Linked DNA regions of Homo sapiens: region 1 is linked to region 2. The links are contacts of gene promoters, found by promoter capture Hi-C in blood cells and fetal thymus (Javierre and others, 2016). All regions are on one chromosome and are shown on one strand. The core of a region is centred on a gene start or on the middle of the fragment in contact, and the rest is flanking DNA. Distances in the headings are between cores, read along the strand shown. Region 1 overlaps ZNF609 (zinc finger protein 609). Region 2 holds the start of PCLAF (PCNA clamp associated factor).

Evidence for each region. The method cuts DNA at HindIII sites, captures the fragments that hold promoters and counts their contacts. A CHiCAGO score of 5 or more calls a contact.
Region 1: a fragment that was not itself captured here is called in contact with the fragment with the promoter of PCLAF in region 2 in 1 of 17 cell types (total CD4 T cells); the score reaches 5.1 in total CD4 T cells.

What each region holds. Positions count from the first base shown.
Region 1 is chr15:64,645,265-64,647,998 of GRCh38, forward strand. The region is part of intron 3 of ZNF609 (zinc finger protein 609); the gene reads left to right. Among named protein-coding and RNA genes, the nearest start is that of OAZ2, 57 kb to the right of the region's middle. The HindIII fragment of the contact is 5,059 bases long and covers 1-2,734 here.
Region 2 is chr15:64,380,107-64,382,806 of GRCh38, forward strand. It overlaps PCLAF (PCNA clamp associated factor), which reads right to left and starts at 1,335. Exons shown (of 4, transcript NM_014736.6): 1 at 1,220-1,335; 2 at 852-932. The coding sequence starts at 1,265. RefSeq lists an enhancer at 996-1,506. The HindIII fragment of the contact is 13,260 bases long and covers 1-2,700 here.

The sequences.
Region 1 (2,734 bases), core at 137-2,636, 270 kb after region 2:
ATTTTTTGTAGAGATGGGGTCTCACCATGTTACTTAGGCTGGTGTTGAACTCCTGGGCTCAAGTGATCTGCCTACCACAGCCTCCCAAAATGCTGGGATTACAGGCATGAGCCATTGCACTCGGCGTCCTACATTTTCTGCCCCACAACTAGCAACTGTTTTTTCCTCTGATTTTTTTTTTTAATTTTTGAAATTATTTTATTATTTCAAAAGTAATGCCTGATTTTTTAGCTATGACACCAAAAGCACAAGCCAGCAAAAGAAAAATTAGATAAATTGGATTTCATCAAAACTAATAACTTTTGTTTATCAAAGGATACTACCAAGAGAATAAAGATAGAATGAGAGAAAATATTTGCAAATCGTGTATCTGATAAGTGATTAATATCTAGAATAAAGAACTCCTACAGATCAACAATGAAAAACCCAAACAACCTAATTCAAAAATGCGCGTAAGACTTGAATAGACATTTTGCCAAAGAAGATATCTAAATGACCAATAATCACATGAAAAGATGCTCAGAATCATTAATTATAAGAGAAATGAACATAAAAACCATGATGAATTACCACTTCATACCTACTAGGATGGTTGTTATCAAAAATGTGGAAAATAAAAAGTGTTCAAGAGGATGTGGAGAAATTGGAACCCTTGAGAACTGTTGGTTGGAACATAAAATGAGTACAAGCCATTGTGGAAAACAGTTTGGTGGATCCTCAAAAAGCTAAACAGAATTAACATATGATCCAGCAATTCTACTCCTAGGTATATACTTAAAAGAATGGAAAACAGATGTTCACACAAAAACTTGTATGTGAATATATGACAGTATTATTCACAATATTCAGAAGGTAGAAATAACCCAAGTGTCCATCAACAGATGAATGGATAAACAATGTGGTATAGCCATACAATGGAATATTATTCAGCAAACAAAAAGAAATGAAAGCTGGTACAGTGACTCATGCCTCTAATCCCAGCACTTTGGGAGGCTGAGATGGGAGGATCACTTGAGCCCAGGAATTCAAGACCAGCCTGGGCAACATAGCAAGACTGCATCTCTAGAAAAAAATACAAAATGGCGGCCAGGCATGGTGGCTTATGTCTGTAATCCTAGCACTTTGGGAGGCCGAGGTGGGTGGATCAGCAGAGGTCAGGAGTTCGAGACCAGCCTAGCCAACATGGCAAAACCCCATCTCTACTAAAAATACAAAAAAAATTAGCCAAGTTTGGTGGCACACACCTGTAACCCTAGCTACACGGGAGGCTGAGGAAGGAGAATCGCTTGAACCTGGGAGGTAGAGGTTGCAGTGAGCCAAGATCGTGCCACTGCACTCCAGCCTGCACAATGGAAACAAGACTCCATCTCAAAAAAAAAAAAAAAAAAAAAAAACTGGGCACGGTGGCTCACGCCTGTAATCCTAGCACTTTGGGAGGCCAAGACGGGCGGATCACTTGAGGTCAGGAGTTCGAGACCAGCCTGGCCAACATGGTGAAACCCCATCTCTACTAAAAATACAAAAAATTAGCTGGGCATGGTGGCGCATGCCTGTAGTACCAGCTACTCGGGAGGCTGAGGCAGGAGAATCGCTTGAACCTGGGAGGCAGAGGTTGCAGTGAGCCGAGATCATGCCATGGCACTTCAGCCTGGATGACAGAGGGAGACTCTGTCTCAAAAAAAAAAAAAAAAAAAAAAATCAACCTGGTATGGTAACACGTGCAGTGATAAACTCATTATCACTGTATAGGATGTTGTCAGTTAGGCTTACTTAGTACTCCCAGCTACTCAGGAGGCTGAGGCAGGTGGATTGCTTGAGCTGTGATCACACCACTGCCATCCAGCCTGGGGGACAGAGTGAGACCCTGTCTCCAAAAAAAAAAAAATGAAGTTCTGATTCTACAATGTGGATGAACCTTGAAAATACATGTTAAGTGAAATAAGCCAGTCACGAAAGGACAAATATTGTATTTTTTCCACTTAGGTATCTAGAATGGATACATTTATATAGACAGAAAGAATATTAAGGGCCGTGGGGAGCATAGGGAATGGAGAATTATTGCTTAATGGCTACAAAGTTTCTATTTCAGGTGATGAAAAAGTTTTAGATATTGTGATGGTTCAAAAGGAAAAAGTAACAATTTTTATTGTTGAACATTTAGGAGACAAAGTCAAAATTCACCAAGAGGAAAAGAATAAATTACCCAGAGATAACCAATGTTTGAATTTTTATATTATATATTTTTGTTGCTTCTTTTATTTTATATTTTTAACAAATTGAGACCCTTCTCTATATATTTCGTAATCTTCTTTGTTTAGAGAAATATATTCCTGTAACATATTTCCATAACATTAAATGACCTTCTATAACATTTTAAATAACTACAGAGTATTCCATGTTAAGGATGTATCATAATGGACTTAGTCATTATATCTTTTATATGGTTTAAAAAAAGATACTTCTTAAATTTTCTAGCTCTTCAAGAGCTGAGCTTCATTTTTTACATCATCAATAAAGTACCTCACATACCAAGGAGACACATTATGTGTTTCATAATAATAACCTTGCAGCTTTGGACTTTTCGGTTTTTGTCCAAACTCCCTTTTCTCTTTTTATCCTCTTGCTGCATTTTGCCTACTTGGACATTTTCTTTTTGCTTCTTCCACCTGTTCTGTGTGTCTTTCACTTTGCCACCAGTATGTAGCTTTATTGCTGCATCTGTTTCTTTTCTGGT
Region 2 (2,700 bases), core at 85-2,584:
GCGTGGTGGATCACGTCTGTGTTCCCATCACTTTGGGAAGCTGAGGCAGGCAGATCATGAGGTCAGGAGTTTGAGATCAGTCTGGCCAACATAGTGAAACCCCATCTCTACTAAAAATACAAAAAAATTAGCTGGGTGTGGTGGCGTGCACCTGTAATCCCAGCTACTCAGGAGGCAGAGGCAGGAGAATCGTGTGAACCCGAGAGGCGGAGGTTGCAGTGAACCAAGATCACACCGTTGCACTGCAGCCTGGGCAACAGTGCAAGACTCTGTCTCAAAAAAAGAAAGAGAAAGAAAAAGGAAAATACTAAACCAAAAAACAAAAATTGATAGGCTGGCTGTGGTGGCTCATGCCTGTAATCCCAGTAGGAGGATTGTTTGAGCCCAGGAGTTTGAGACCAGCTTAGGCAACATAGTGAGACCCCCATCTCTACAAAAAATAGAAAAAAAAGCCCGGCGTGGTGGCATGTACCTGTAGCCCCAGCTACTTTGGAGGCTGAGGTGGGAGGATTGCTTAAGCCCCATAAGTGGAGGATGTAGTGACCAGTGATTGCACCACTGCACTCCAACCTGAGCAACAAAGAGAGGCCCTGTCTAAAAAAAGAAAAGAAAAGAAAAATAGGCTTGAAGATAAGGTGTGTCGGTCCTTAACTCCAAGGCTTGAAATTCCCTTCCATGAGACCTCCCCCCCACCTCTACCCTAGCCGGCCAAAAGGCCCAGCCTCTCTTATTATATCACAGGGCAAGGAAGAAATTCGGGCGTGAGTACCTCAAGAAAAAGAAATTCATGGCAAGCCAGGGGCTTGCAGGTGCCAGGACTGATCCCCTAACTTTAGGAGGGCTCTTCTTACCTTTCCTCGATGAAACTGATGTCGAATTAGTGGCAGAGGTGGAAGAACCAAGCACCTTTCTGGGGGCTCGAGCAGCCACCACTGTGAAGAGAGGCAAAAAAGGGTGTTCAGAAGGGGCAGGAGGGTTCCGACACCGAGTCCTGGACCCCAGCAGCTTGGAGAGGAGAGCCTGGCGATCCAGAACAGCAGGATAACCTTACCCTGCCCCTGCGACTTCCTCTTCTAGGTAAAGGGGCCAGGCGGCTACTCCCTGGCTAGCTAGATGAGTTTGGCGCACAGGGCCCAGGGGGACCTCTGGCGTCTGTCGCCCGTGGCCAGGCTGCCGGGAGGACCCCCCCGCCCTCCAGTACCACACTCGATCGCCTCACCTTTTCTGTAAGTGCCTGGAACACTGTCTGCTTTAGTCCGCACCATGTTCAAACAAGAAGAGAGGAGAGGAGAGAACGAACTGACTTCCCAGCCGAGGGTGTTTCACTGGACAAGGACCCGAAAACTATCCCGCCACAGTTTATATTGGTCTCTTTCCCGCGCGCTCCAAGGTCTCTCCCGAGCCACCGCTCCCATTGGTTCCGCGCCGTTCCCCCTGAACCAATTGCCAATGCCCAGTGGTGACAGCGGCGAGGCTTCTTGCAGCGCGAATCCGTCCATCAACACGCAAAGGCCTAGGATTCGTAGGCGCCCCAGGTGGGCGGTACCAGGACTCTCCAGGGGTACCCGACTAGTGGGTGCTAAGTTTCTGAACTACAGAAATGAGCCTGCTTAGAAAAGAAAACCTAGCAAAGACAGCGAATTACAAACGATCTTCAAAAGTTACTATAGCTTTAAGTCCATAATGATTGACTCCTGGAGGTGAAACCTGAAATTAAGCGGACTTTTTGATGCAAATCAAAATTAAAAGAACTTGAGAACTTTCCTTTAGTCCCCCAGGCATGAACTCTTTGTACAGCATCCATACTAAAACAATTCTATGGAATGGGGAAAAGGAAGCTAATACAACTTGTTTACAAGGGTTTTTTTAAATGTCTTTAGGATGATGTGAGACTAAACAAAAACTAGGGGGATTGTATATACATACACACATAAAAAGAAACTAATAAAACGTCTTCTTGAGAACCGAATGGTGTCAGAGCTCCTAAATAATCTGCCAAATCTGCCAGGAGCGGGGACTCATGGCTGTAATCCCAGCACTTTGAGAGGCCGAGGCGGGCAGATCGCTTGACCCCAGGAGGTCGAGACCAGCCTGACCAACACGGTGAAACCCGTCTCTACAAAAAATATACAAAAATTAGCCGGGTGCAGTGGCATGTTCCTGTAATCCCAACTACTCGGGAGGCTGAGGTGGGAGGATGGCTTGAGTTCAGGAGACGGGAGATTGCTTGTGCCTAGGAGGGAGAGGTTGCAGTGAGCCATAATCACACCATGCACTCCAGCCTGGGCGACAGAGCGAGATCCTGTCTCAAAAAAAAAAAAGAAAGAAAGAAAGAAAAGAAAAGAAAGAAAGAAAAGAAAAGAAAAAAGAAAAGAAAGGCAAGGCAAGGCAAGGAAATGAAATGAAACGAAACGAAACGAAAAGACCCTGCCAAATGTGGTAAGACCACATCGCTGTCACACAGTGAGCATAACTCTAGGATAAAGGGTCATAATTTTTTTCTATCTTTATGCTTACCTTCTAATTACTCACAACACCCCTGGGGAGTGATTTTCACTCTCTAAATACCATACATAAAACAGAATCGGTCAGGCATGGTGGCTCACACCTGTAATCCTAGCACTTTGGGAGGCCGAGGCAGGCAGATTGCCTGAGCTCAGGAGTTCGAGACCAGCGTGGGCAACATGGTGAAACCCAGTC